2 separate regions of the Homo sapiens genome follow, and region 1 is linked to region 2. The links are contacts of gene promoters, found by promoter capture Hi-C in blood cells and fetal thymus (Javierre and others, 2016). All regions are on one chromosome and are shown on one strand. The core of a region is centred on a gene start or on the middle of the fragment in contact, and the rest is flanking DNA. Distances in the headings are between cores, read along the strand shown. Region 1 overlaps HDAC2 (histone deacetylase 2). Region 2 holds the start of RFPL4B (ret finger protein like 4B).

Region 1 (7,450 bases), core at 4,840-7,339, 1.6 Mb before region 2:
AAGACATTGAAGTTGGTACAAAAAAGCCAGAAAACTGTAAGTCAAGCCATTGAAAGTCAGAGACTGTCTGTATATAGAAATAGATGGATGAATGATTAGAGTAAGTGCCATTCTTTATAAATAGGAGAACATTCACTTTGTGTTCACTTTTAAACATTTTCTTAGGAAATATTTCACCACCTAAATCTGGATTCTGTGCATGGTTTTTTGTGAAAACTGAGCTTGTAATATGTAACTTTATTTTATTGTTTTCATTAGAGTTGCCATATAATGATTACTTTGAGTATTTTGGACCAGACTTCAAACTGCATATTAGTCCTTCAAACATGACAAACCAGAACACTCCAGAATATATGGAAAAGATAAAGTAAGAAATCATTGAATTGTTTTGATAAACATTTTATCTTGACAAAGATTTAGTATGCTTTAAAGGGCCAAGTATGATGGGTCTTTTTAACTTTATTAGATATTTTGTTTTTTTCTAAAGGATTTGAAACATTAAGTTACTGATTATTCTTTTTTTTTTTTTTTAATTTTTAATTTTTTTGTCAGGATGGGATATTGCTTGGTTGCCCAGGCTGGTCTCGAACTCCTGGCTTCAAGTGATCCTGTCACCTCTGCCTCTCAGAAGTGCTGAGCTTACAGGCATGAGCCACCGTATTCAGCCATTTAATTTCTTCAGTTAATGGAAATAATTTTTTTTATTAGTTGAAATGTATTTTAAAATTGCAAGGTGCACTATAAGTTATTTTCATTGTCTGGAACATTTTGTTAAGGCTTTGTCTCCACAAGCAAAGTAGAGACATTATAGTACATAGCATGGGTTTGAGTCACCTCTGTACCACAAACAAGCTGTATGATGTTTGATAAGTTCACTTGCCTTTGTGCTTATGTTTTCTCATCATTGAAATGGCAGGCTAAAATAATGCCTCCTTGGCCAGTCAAGGTGGCTTATGCTTGTAATCCTAATGCTTTGGAAGTCCGAGGTGGGAGGATAGCTTTAGACCAGTAGTTTGTGACCAGCCTGGGCCATATAGTGAGACCTTGTCTGCAAAAAATTTAAAAATTAGCCGGGCATGGTGGCATACACTTGTAGTCCTAACGCGCAGAGGCTGAGGCAGGAGGATTGCCAGGAGTTTGAGGCTGCAGTGAGCTATGATCTTGCCACTGCACTCTAGTCTGGGCAACAAAGAGAGACCTTTTAATATATAGGTTTAGCTAGACCAAAGATGAAATTTTTTGCTAAATATTTTCTCTTGCATGTAAGAACTGCAAAGAAATTTAATTTTGTCTAATAAACTTTGCATGTGTAATTTAGACAGCGTTTGTTTGAAAATTTGCGCATGTTACCTCATGCACCTGGTGTCCAGATGCAAGCTATTCCAGAAGATGCTGTTCATGAAGACAGTGGAGATGAAGATGGAGAAGATCCAGACAAGAGAATTTCTAGTAAGATAATGCCTTTATTTTTCCAATTTGTCAAAATGATAATTGAAATGGAAGGTTTTAGTGGCCTAAGAACTTCACTATAAAGTCATGTTCACGAGCACACTGTTAATATTGTCATTTTTGCCACTTTCAGAGATTTAGCTTCCTGATGTCTCAGAACCTGATTTGGGTGTCAGCAGTTTCAGTTTGTATGGCTGGATATACATATATGATTGAAAGTTTTCAAAAATTAGCAACTTTAGTATATTTGGAAATTAATAAGACATCTCATTTATCTAAAGTAGGGTGAACTAAATAACTAAACATCTGTTTGATTTTACAACTTCTCATTACACTTAATGTGATGGTTAGATTGTAGCATAACAGTATGTGTAATGGTATAGACTGTCTAACATATTTGGTATTGGTACTTTTTTTTTGGTCTACTTCACCTCTCAGCTCTGAAATAAAATGCTACTTTTTAAGTAATGACATTATTCCCATCCCCTATTAGAAAAACACACTTTTTTCCTTTAGAGTTTCAGCATTTTTAAAGAAAAAGAGATTCCCCCAATTTTTATTATGTGTTTTTGAGCCATTTCTTCATACATGAAAGCAAAGTTTTCAATATTAAATAAACCATTCATTCCATTCAAATTTTAAAATCATTAGGCATGTTACCCTTTACGTTTAAATGTGGTAACTAACTGCTTAGTGCATTTGTATGAGTATGCTGTAATGATTATAAAACCTGTGACTGTTTTTGTCAAAATTTATTAAAATATTCTGTGCAGTTCGAGCATCAGACAAGCGGATAGCTTGTGATGAAGAATTCTCAGATTCTGAGGATGAAGGAGAAGGAGGTCGAAGAAATGTGGCTGATCATAAGAAAGGAGCAAAGAAAGCTAGAATTGAAGAAGATAAGAAAGAAACAGAGGACAAAAAAACAGGTCAGATTTGTTTCTTGGTAATTGTGTTTTAATTGTAAATTTTAAAAATTGGGCTGCATTATAATGTTTATGCTATCGAGAAGTCAGTTGCACAGGTATCAGGAGGAAGTATGCTAGGTAGGTGACTCTTTTTTCTTACATATAAGTGGTACTTAGCTCTTAAAGCTTTTATATAAATGTTATTGTTCCTATTTGCTTTAGTAATACAGGAAACCTTATTTTCTTGATAACATAGGTTTAAAATAGTGAACATTGCATTGTGATATAGATTGGTTAAGAAAGAGGACAAAGTAATTATGAATCTATTGGTAGTGCATGGTCAGAACTGAACTTCTAAGGTAATTTTTAGCTACCTAAAGCTTATTTAATGGGAGAAAACACAAAGAAGAGTTACATATCCTTAGACCAGTTTTGCCATTTTGAAAAAGGTCAAATAATGGATTTTGTTCAGAAATTGAAGAAAACATTAAAAACTCTGAGGAAAGCTAGGAGGGGATTTGGGACCTGGGTTAGGGAGGAAAAAATACTTTGATACATTGCCTTACTTTAAAACGCTGTGTTAGCTTTAGGCAATTGAATTTGCTACCGGAATCTGTTACCTTTCATCTGACTTCCCAGAACACTTACACATGCCTCTGCCATTTTATTTAACACATCATATTATAGCACCTCACAGGATTTTGTCTCCCTACTAGACTGAGCTGCTCATGGCTAGGGAACACAGTATCTTAAATATTTGTATTCTCAGCACTTGATGCATTTCCTAATGCAAGTAATGGTGATGAGCACACGTTTTAGTTAACCTGTTAATTTTGATCCTGTAGTATGTGAAAAACTGATTTAGAGATAATGATCCAATTTTTCCTATGTCTATCAAATTGAAGTTATGTGAATAAGCCAGCTTTTTTTTTTTTTTTTAAACTAGAGAGTTAGTAATCTATAACATCTGACACATTTAGTTCTGTTCTTTTACTTGTGGATTCACTCCTCAATAGGCTACATACAGAAATTTATAATTTTAACTTCCCAATGTATTACAATGATGGCTTCAGTCTATATTTGTAACTGATTGACATCCAAAAATTCAAGCCATGACTGAATTAAGGACGACTTAACTTTAGCTGTAGGATTTTCCTAACTTTTTTTCTTTTCTTTCATTTTCACTATGTTTTCTTGTCTGTCTGTTTTTGGTGTTCTCATTTTTAAAAGCTTTATCTTTTCTGTGCTTAAAAAATAAACTCTCTATTTGGTGATGAGGCTCTTTCGATAGGGCCTTGCAGTTGTTAAAATTCTTCAGCCTACTGAAAAATGAAATACTACCACAGAAAGCTTTTTTTAAATCTATAGGTCAAAACCTAGAGTTAGGGCCACCTTTTCTCCCTCTGCACCCCAATCCAGTGACTATTCATAGCTTGTACTGCCATCGTTTAGGAAACACCCAACACAAAGCTTATTTAGACCGAATTCATTAATAATAAGATTGCATAACTTTTTATATTTTAAAAATAAAGTATATTTTGAAATAATATATATACATTTTATATTTCAAAATAGGTTTTAATCTTTTCCCAATCTTTATTTTTAGACGTTAAGGAAGAAGATAAATCCAAGGACAACAGTGGTGAAAAAACAGATACCAAAGGGTAAATGATGTTCCTTATCAAGTACTTTTTACATACTATAAAAATACTAAACATGTTTATTGGTGTGTGTTTGTGTACACACTTCAGAAATACTAGACTGAACCTTAGAACATCATTATGAGGTGCTCTGAATTTTAGTTTGTATTGGTACATAAGACAACATATGCCATCTTACCTATTGGTTTATCAGTATAACTATATCAGTCAGTTTGTATTCTTGTACGTAGTTTATCTGAGACCCTTTTTTGCTGTTATCTTTTATATATGCACTTAATGGTTTTCATGGTGTTCTTATTTCTGTGTACATGATTTTTTTAGTGTTGTGAGATAGGTAAATTTAAGAAACAATTTTAAGTAAAAACAGTTGAGGATTTTAGTGTCAGAAAGCATGTAAATGTTTGGGCACACATAATTTTGTGCCAGCCTTTACAGGATAACTTGGAATAGTTTATTAAATCACTAGAAAAATTAAGGCATTAATTACTCCAGAAACACTTAAGACATTATCAATTAATGTGTTTCTTAGCATGAGCCTACAGGACCTGATCAATATAATAGGTCAGTGCATTTAAACCAAGATTGTGCCATTTTTAATATTTCACATTGCCTCTTTTAACAGAACCAAATCAGAACAGCTCAGCAACCCCTGAATTTGACAGTCTCACCAATTTCAGAAAATCATTAAAAAGAAAATATTGAAAGGAAAATGTTTTCTTTTTGAAGACTTCTGGCTTCATTTTATACTACTTTGGCATGGACTGTATTTATTTTCAAATGGCTTTTTCGTTTTTGTTTTTCTTGGCAAGTTTTATTGTGAGTTTTTCTAATTATGAAGCAAAATTTCTTTTCTCCACCATGCTTTATGTGATAGTATTTAAAATTGATGTGAGTTATTATGTCAAAAAAACTGATCTATTAAAGAAGTAATTGGCCTTTCTGAGCTGATTTTTCCATCTTTTGTAATTATCTTTATTAAAAAATTGTACTTGGATTATCTTTTGTCTGTTTATTACTACAATATGAAGTCTTGTTTCAGTGGCTAATGACATCATTTCTGTAGACTTACAATACACTCTAGGTGAAAGATAATGATTACAGCTTGAAAGATAACTATTTGCTGTTTCTTTGGGAAGAGTATTTATAGTAATTATTACTTATCTTTGCAATAGAAATTCTACCACCTTGCCCTCTATAGCTTAGCCAGTTAGTATCAGTGAAGATTAACATCCCATTACAATTTATGAAATAATACAGACTCTGCAATTGAGATGTAGGAGTTCTTTGAGTTGACCCAAAGATTCTCAAAATTGAAATGGAAATTCTGAATTGAAAGAAGAAACTGACCAGAACTTGTATTGACCAGACTTGCCTATAGTATATTGCTGGTTTAAAATGGAACCTGCAGACAAAACCTGTTTCTTTTACTGCATTTACATGGCATCCAGGTTCCATTATTATTTACGTGACATCCAGGTTTCTAACTCAAGGAAATAAACACAACTGATTTATCATTCAGCAACTACTTATTGTGTGTCTGCCCATTTTAAGACTGTAGGAGTGTAACTGAATATAATGGAAAAATGCTTTCACTCAGAGCTTACACTCAGAGCTTACATTCTAGTAGCAGGAAGCAGACAAATGGGGGTAACTCCTGCTACTAAGATGTGCAAAGAAGACAAAACATTTTAGGAACTTGCCAAAATCAGTGAAATCTCCCTTTTTGTCAGGCCCACATTGATTCTTTTGAGATTAAAAATTACAGAATGCCAGAAGATAATTCAGTCAAAAGTATTTCTCTTCAGTGCAGTAAAATATTAAAAGAAAAAATATTTCTCTACAAGCCTCTTAAATGTTTCAGACATTCACAATAGCACCTAGACTTTTGTAATGAACAGCTGTGCACCCACCCCGACTTAACAAATATTTTACTTTTGCTATATTTGCTTCGGTGTTTTTTTCTTAAAATACACCGAAATTGAAGCTCTCTTTGTGTACTTTGTCGTTTGTAATCCTCCCTCCCTCCCAGCCTTAAGAAGTAATCACCATTGTGATTATTTTATCCATGTTTTTGTGAATATTTTACCCATGTTTTTGTACTTTTGCTACATATTTGTTATCAATCTGTAAACCTTTATGACATTAGGAACTAAGAAACTTAGTCCCTTCGTTAGGGGGATAATGAAATGTATTTAGTGTTTGTGAAACATAGATGGTATGTATTTGGACAATTCTGTAACTTTGCTTTTTTTATTTTTATTTTTCCATAGCTTATTGGGGAACAGGTGGTGTTTGGTTACATGATTAAGTTCTTTAGTGGTGATTTGTGGGATTTTGGTGGACCCATCACCCAAGCAGTGTACACTGCACCCTATTTGTAATCTTTTATCCCTCGCCCCCCTCCCACCATGCCTCCCGTCTACCATGATGATCCTGTTTTAAATAAGAAAATACCATTTCGCAGGCTCCAGATGTTCTGGCATCCTCCCTGTGGATTTCCCAGTGCCTGCAGCTCACAGGACAACAGGGGCTGTGGTAGAGTCACCTATGAGATCCTGGAGTAGTGGATGGAGGAGATGGAACAGTGAAGACGGAAACTGAGCTCAGTATCCGGGTGCCAGGAGACAAAGGCCCTTTGCTTTTTTTCATTTAATATTCTGATCTACCCCTGTTGACACATGTTAAGTATAGTTCATTTTGACTGCTATGTATTATGTTCCATTGTGTGAACATACTGAAATTGTACACTTCAATACTATACTGGATCTCCTTGGGTGTATTTAAGAGGTTTTGTTTTTCTAAGTAGTTGGTTATATACAACTAAAACCTCAAGAGAACTATCTAAAGCAATTTCAGCAAGGTGATTTGGTACAGCATTAATAAACAGAAATCAGTAACACTTAGTGACCAAGTCTGTTGGAAGAACAAAGACCCCCATTTGTAATAACAAAATTTTTAGAAATAATATGTAAAGAAGCTATGGTTCTTGTGTCTAGTAAGGTCAATGTAACATAGTAAGATGTCAGAATACCCTAATACTTTAAAAAATTCATATAGGATAAAAATGATATTTGAAATTGGCAAGGAAAGACATTATTTTGTAAGTGGAATTGGGACAACAACTGGTAACCAAATGGAAAACCCAGTTTTCTGCCCTCCACTAGAAGATTTAAATAGGAAAAGATAAAACTACCAAAAACCTAAACTCTTAAAGCAAATGGATTGAAGAAGGCCTAAGTGTGACACCAAACTCAACTATAAAAGATATATTTGATAACAAAAAAAAAATTAGTTCAGTGGACCAACAAAAACTTAGAAGACAAGTCAAGAAAAATGACAAAAGACAGAGTGGGAGGCAGATTTGTAACTCATCCAGGTCAAAAGGCTCATATCTAAAGATAGTAGAGGAACAAAATGTATAAGGATGTGAAC
Region 2 (7,163 bases), core at 2,412-4,911:
TCATGCTGTATCAACAAAATAACTCACACTGGCTGTTGAATTTTTCTTCCTCCTCAGACATTATCAGGAATTACACAAAACAGCTTGAAATAATGAAAAAGATATTGTCTATCCACAAAACCTAATATCTAGCTTACTTACAATCTAAGATTTCTCTATTTGTTATTTACTATAAGACAAAGGCATAGTATTGTCTCTAATTACCACAGCTGTTTGACTGAGATACAATTATCCGCATCTACAGACTAGAAAACTGAAGCTTACAGTACTTAATAACATCCCTAAAGACCCCAGTTACCTAGCTACAAATTCCACAAAATTTACCCCAAAAATCCGAAAATTGTTTTGCTACAAAGTCTACAAAATCTACTTTAAAAATTTACCAAGTCTTTGCACTATAGCACATTATCTCTTCCTCAATCATGCTGACCTTTCTCAGGCCAAAATTCTCTTTCACCTCTCAGAAAGCTTCTAGGAAGGGCTGACTTTCTCATGGGCAGATGGTCAGGACGTTGCCACTCTCCCCTTCTCCCAAGAGCTCAAGACAGAAGAATGGACACAAAAGCTCCAAAGAGAAGAAACCATCATGTGTATAGATGAGGACATTATTGTCAACATCAAAAAACTGGATTTCTTCTAAGTCAGCATCCAGGAAAATTCCCACACGGCGAAGGCGAGGGCTTGCAGGAATTCTCTCCAGGTGGGTGTTAGCATGGATTGCTCCTGCCTTCATGCTGATCCAGAAGCCATGCTCAGGGAATAAATCATTGCTCTTTCTGTCAGCCGGCTCCTTGCAGACGCCCAGGGACCATGACTTCACCTCTCCCACTTCAACCTCCCAGTAATGTTGGCCGGAGGAGAAGCAGGGAGTACCCAGGACACAGGCCAGCCTGGGATCTTTTGTCAGATCGTGGTGGATCTTCTTACACTGAGCGCTTCTTAGATCATTGGAGAAGACAAGGAGGGAGCTGGCAGTGGCTGCATCCAGGGTCACATCCTCCCGAAAATGCCGGAGCTCCTCCCTCACGTGCAGACTTTGCTCAAGTCGGCTATTGTGCTGCTTGGTCATAAGTGTTAGGACGCTCACTTGCCATTCTTCCAAAGCAGGTACCTTCACCACGTCTCGACACAAGGGGCACATCGCTCTAAAATCATGGTTTTCTAGTATATACCTCTGGATGCAATCAAAGCAGAACACGTGTGTACAAGAGAGAGAAATGGAACAGGAGAAAAAATCCAGGCAAACTGGACAGGACAACTCTGCTTGCAGGCGTTTGGCCATGGTTCTTAAGGGTTACTCCTTAGCCGTGAAGTAAACTGAAGTGATCCTTTATTGGCTTCTGGAAGCACTTGGGAGCCCTCAGTACACAATCCACTCTTCAATAGTCTAAATCCAAGATTAAATAATATAAATTAATAAATAAGTTATTGGCATACATAAATGAATTATATTATTTAATAAATAATAATAAATTTATTAACTAAGAAATTAAGAATAACAAAAAAATAATATTTCTGCAGTTTGTGTATGAAAGTGACACTAAATTGCTAGAGAATCACAGTAATGTAGTCATGGTGATAAAAATGATTTCGAAACTCTTCAAACTCTAGATAATCACAAGACAGAAATAGGACAGTGGAAACTTTCTTTTCAGACAGTGCAGCTTACCTAGTCTGAAGACTTCCAGGTGATGTGTTGGCTGCTCCGGCCAAAGTTTCTCCTAATGGGGGCTGAATTCAAGTGGGTCTTTAACAGAATCTCAGTATAGTCTCCACTCAGTATTTCTTTGTAGATCCTCTGCAGTTCAGGAAAAAGAATGTTCATGTCTAAATTCAATAATGAAAATAAAGCCAATTCTACATTAATCATCACAGAAAAGTGACTCTAAGGAATCCTCAGAATTTCCAGGAAAATTACCACATGTGAGTAAAGCCAGCAAAATCCACTGCAAAATGAGAAGCCCATAAAAGAATCAAGTTTAAGGACAAAGTGTTATTAGATGAAATGCTTTAAAGCACTCTAAGAAAACTAATTAAGGCTTGAATTAATGTGAATAAAAATATAATAGTCATCAACTTCTCCAAAATAATCATGCCTGAATACAAACCAAAAAGATGTTCCAGACAAGGAAGATGCCCTCCTGTTACCCCAACTGCTCCCAAAGCTTGAGAGCCTCTGGTGCTCCCAGAGGACTTCCCACCATGGCTATTATTCTTTGAGTGAGCTGTCTCTGACATGCTGGGCACAGCATATTGGACCAGGCTAGACCCATGACCCAAAGACAGCCTCGCAAAGCTGGACAGCACCTTTGAGATTATGTGAACAGAGGACTGTTCTCCAATAAGAGCCTGCACTGAGCAGTAACTAGCAGAACTCCTTACCAAGAACCCACAAATCACACATTCAGTGGTGACAGTAGTAACAGAATGAGGGACAGAAAGAGGAGCAGCATCAACATTACCAGAGAGAGGAAGTGATGAACACCGATGAGGCCAGCCTAAGACTGAGTTACTAGAACTGTCCTACATCCCAGAACACATTCTCTAATCTCTTTCCAACAAATACTTATTGAGCCCCTTCTGTGCTCTTGGCCTCAACTGGACTCTGGAAACACAAACGTGTGTAATAAACAGGGTATCTGCCCACATAAAACTTTGTCTTCCAAGTCCTGATCAGCATTCCAATCTCATGGTGCCTGGCTGGCGGACAACCAGAGATTACCTCTTTCTTAAATTCTGTTATCTTTTTCAATTTAATGGGAAATTTAACATGGTGCTGGAAATCTAATTGCCTAACCCACCTTGGAATGTATCTAAGAAAACAATTTTACAAAAGAAAAAAAATGCTACACTTATTCACAAGTTGTTCATTTCAGTGTTAACTACCATCCCAAATGATCAGGAACAATCGAATTATCTAACAATAATAAAATGATTCAGCTAATTATGACACAACTACTAAAAGTGGCCAAGTATATTTAAGTGAAAACCCGAAGTGAAGTCTTTTTTTTTTTTTGAGACGGAGTCTTGCTCTGTCGCCCAGGCTGGGGGTGCAGTGGCTCCATCTCGGCTCACTGCAACCTCTGCCTCCCGGGTTCAAGCAATTCTCCTGCCTCGGTCTCCTGAGTAGCTGGGATTACAAGCATGTGCCACCACGTCCGGCTAAGTTTTGTATTTTTAGTAGAGACGGGGTTTCACCATGTTGGACAGGCTGGTCTCTTGACCTCGTGATCCACCCACCTCAGCCTCCCAAAGCGCAGGCGCGAACCATGGCGCCCGGCCGAAAACCCAGAAATCTTTTAAGAAATGTTGGAAAATAAAAAGAAACCATTTTAAAACCATTTAAATCCATTGTAGTTGAAAACACATAAAAATACAAGTTCATGCAAAGAGTGACCTGAGGTTCATATGTAAAAATTTAAATGGCAAAGTTATAGTTAAAGGTGAAGAAAGCTCCCTGGCACAGGAAAAAACTAGTTCTTTCTCCTCTAAAATAAATAGTTAAAGGCATTCGAAAACACCAGTTTGTAGCCAAAGACAGAATAGGACATTGGAAATAGCTTAAACAGAAGGTATAACTTACCTTGACTTGGAGACTTCCAGCAGAATTCTAAAAGATCCGAAGCCTACGTCTCTACCTCTACAGACCTCTGCTCCTCTCGGAGTTTCCGCGGAGAGACACCAGCGTTTTTATACTGCCTGGAAAACATTGTCCAACCAATCAGAGTCAGAGGCTCCGCCCCAAAGGTTGTACCACTCTAATCTGAGTAAACTCATCAACCCACCCTTCCGTTTATGATGATGACATTAAAGCAGGCTTCAAATTATATAGTAAAAAAATTCAAAATTTCTTAATAACTCCCTGAATTAGAGTGAATCTACTGCCATCTGCTCTTGTCTCTAATTTCAGAACTCAACTTTAAAAAGCAAAATGTGTTGGAGATCAAATACAGAAATGCACTGCTGAAACCTAATCACCTCGTGGCTAATGTAATCATTGGTGTTCCTATTCCTGATAGAATCATGAGCGGACAGGATCTACAACAGTTTTCATGTCCTTTGACTCAACAATTCTACTCTTAGGGGTACTTACTGGACAGGATAAGAAAGATGGCAGCTAGGCAAGGCTATTGTCCTGTAATTATTAATAATTCCATTTTTTACTCTCAAAAGTGTTCTTGGATGAACGGTAAATTTTATGGTGTCTGTATCGAGAGCAGAAGGAGCAGTAAAAGTCACAACAGAGGAAAGCTAAGACACAAACTTCCAAAAAAGGATTTGGAGGGTGAATGAAGTCCCATTGTAGAGAGGATCGCTGGAATATACGTTTTCCCCAAGAGAGGCTGCATTCTAAATAACCTCTCCTTTCTCAGGCTTCCTGTTCTGCAAGGCCCAACACACAGCTTACACAGCTTTTACTTCATTTTTACCTGGTGCTATCTCCTTTTCTGTGAGTTAAATACTTGCAGGAGCAGGTCTCAAGCGTTGCTGGGGTTTTTTTTTGTTTTGATTTTTGACACAATCTTGCTCTGTCTCCCAGGTTGGAGTGCAGTGGCTCAGTCTCGGCTCATTGCAACCTCCACCTCCCAGGTTCAAGTGATTCTTGTGCCTCAGCCTCCCTAGTAGCTGGGATTACAGGAGGCCAAGGTGGGCAGATCACATAAGTTTAGGAGCTCAAACTTTTTAAATTGTAATCTCAAGACCCTTTAAACTTGAGATTTTAATCTCAAGAATCCTTACACTCTCTTTTTTAATTATTCAAAAATGTCATTTTATTTTTTCTTTCATTTTATTTTGAAATAATTTTAGACACAGAAAATTTGTAGGAATAGTAAAAAGAGATATATTCTTTACCCAGATTTACTATTTGTTTTTTAATTGTCTGATGTATGTATACACTGTGAACTGATTAAATCAAGCCAATTAACATATCTGTCACTTCACATACTTATCATTTTGTCATGAAAATGTTCAAAATCTACTATCTTAGCAATTTTTAGGTGTGCTATACATTATCATTAGTTATATCCACCATGATGTACAATGGATCTCCAAAGAGTATTCCTTCTATCTACCTGAAAATTTTGTACCTTTTAACCAATATCTCCCCATTTCAGTCTTCTTTTCATCCCAGTGCCTGGTAGCCACCATTCTACTCCATGCTTCCATGAGTTCATTTTTTTTTACTTTTTTCCATTCCACGTATAGGTGAAATCATGCAGCATTTGCCTTTCGGTACCAGCTTATTTCACTCAACATAATGTCCTCCAGGTTCCATGTTGTTGAAAATGATAGAATTTCTTAAGACTCGATAGTATTCCATCATGTACATGTACCATGTTTTCTTTATGTATTCATCTATTGAGGAATATCCTGATTCTTTATGCATTCATCAGTTGATGAATATAAGTTGATTCTCTATCTTGGCTACTGTGAATAATGCTGTTATGAACATAGGAGAGCAGATATCTCTTCAATGTACTGATTTTATTTTCTTTGGATATATATTCAGAAGTAGAATTGCTAGATCACATAGTAGCTCTATTTTTAGTTCTTTGAAGAACCCCCATACTAGTTTTCATAATAGCTGTGCTAATTTACATTCCCACCAATGGTGTACGAGGTTTCTCTTTTCTTCATATCTTTGCCAGCATTTGTTATCTCTTCTCTTTTTTATTTATTTACTTTTTTCTCATGCCTGTAATCCCAGCACTTTGGGAGGCCAAGGCGGGTGAATCGCGAGGTTAGGAGTTCAAGACAAGCCTGGCCAAGATGCTAAAACCCCGTTTCTACTAAAAATAAAAAAATTAGCAAGGCGTGGTGGCGGGCACCTGTAATTCCAGCTACTTGTGAGGCTGAGGCATAGAATTGCTTGAACCTAGGAGGCGGAGATTGCAGTGAGCCGAGGTCGCACCACTGCACTCCAGCCTGGGAGACAGAGCAAGACTCCGTCTCAAAAAAAAAAGAAAGAAAGAAAAAATTATTCTTACAGGTGTAAGGTGATATCATTTGCACTCTTATACATAAATGAGAAATCCAAAAAGCTTTTTGTTCATATGAATTATATTTCTTCATATTTACAATATTAGAAATTCAAACTGAGAATTTTTTAAAGCTCTAATTAATTAAAATAAAACTATTACATGTTAACATAAATAATATAGTTTTATTTAAACAAATAACTATTTTCTAAAACAAAAACAATTACTTAGAAGAGTTCCATTGTCTTGAATGTTTGCAAACCTCTGTAATTTTTGCTTAATAAAAGACATCTGGATTCTTACATCTACTTTTGCTGAACCTGTTGTGATATGTTGCTTTGATTTAAATATGTGAAAAAAAATGTGGCTTCCCACAGATGTTTAGTTGGAAAAGGGAAGATTCTGCAGACTCACTAAAAGTGTCTCAGGGACCTCCAGGACCTCTCTAAACTATTCAAAGATCATTGCCCTACTACAAATTCTATAACTCTAAGTGGCAGCAGCAAATCTTAGTTCCTTGGTAACCAAAAACTCTAATGATGCATCCAGCCATCTTTTCGTCTGGCTTCTGCCATCTCAAAACTAATACATATGATATGGCTAAATATGGAACATTTTCTCTCCTTTTTCCAATAATGATGAGGCTTTTTTCACTTTTCCATTTAATTTATTTAACTGCAGTGATGATTCCAAATCAAGTTTTTCTCTATCACTGAATAACACCTACTAGGCCCTCAACAGATGTTGATAATAACAAAAAACATCATTCCTTACTGACTCTTACATTTTTCAGCCAGCTCTGACTGTGGCTGGACCATACACTGACTTCATGCCTCTAAGCTTTTGTCTGCCAGGAGAAATATTTTTTTTCCCAGAAGTACTCACTTTGATTCCCAGATTCTCCATTATTACAGGAATACTGAATTCAGAGAGAAGCACCATTTTTTTTAATTTTCAAGTGCTGGAAATATTGGAAGCCACTTATCTGTGATATCTTAATACTCTCATGACAACATATCAAAAATGTGCATGAAAATTTTTTTAATTTTTAAAATAATTTTTAATTATCATTAATGCTTCCATGAGTTAAGATTAAATCACAAATTAATTTTGTTTCCATAGCTTCCTGATTAAAAAAGGAATCAACTTTCACACATGCTAATTAGATAAGATGAAGCCACT

Evidence for each region. Contacts are between HindIII fragments. The CHiCAGO score rates a contact against its expected background, and 5 or more counts as called.
Region 1: a contact is called between a fragment that was not itself captured here and the fragment with the promoter of RFPL4B in region 2, in 1 of 17 cell types (endothelial precursors). The highest score is 7.1, in endothelial precursors.

Annotation. Positions count from the first base shown.
Region 1 is chr6:113,938,279-113,945,728 of GRCh38, reverse strand. It overlaps HDAC2 (histone deacetylase 2), which reads left to right. Exons shown (of 14, transcript NM_001527.4): 10 at 259-367; 11 at 1,319-1,449; 12 at 2,223-2,378; 13 at 3,964-4,021; 14 at 4,641-7,450. The coding sequence ends at 4,671. Among named protein-coding and RNA genes, the nearest start is that of HDAC2-AS2, 28 kb to the left of the region's middle. The HindIII fragment of the contact is 4,520 bases long and covers 3,830-7,450 here.
Region 2 is chr6:112,343,828-112,350,990 of GRCh38, reverse strand. It overlaps RFPL4B (ret finger protein like 4B), which reads right to left and starts at 3,661. Exons shown (of 3, transcript NM_001013734.3): 1 at 3,584-3,661; 2 at 1,670-1,798; 3 at 1-1,387. The coding sequence starts at 1,282. The coding sequence ends at 491. The HindIII fragment of the contact is 3,879 bases long and covers 2,168-6,046 here.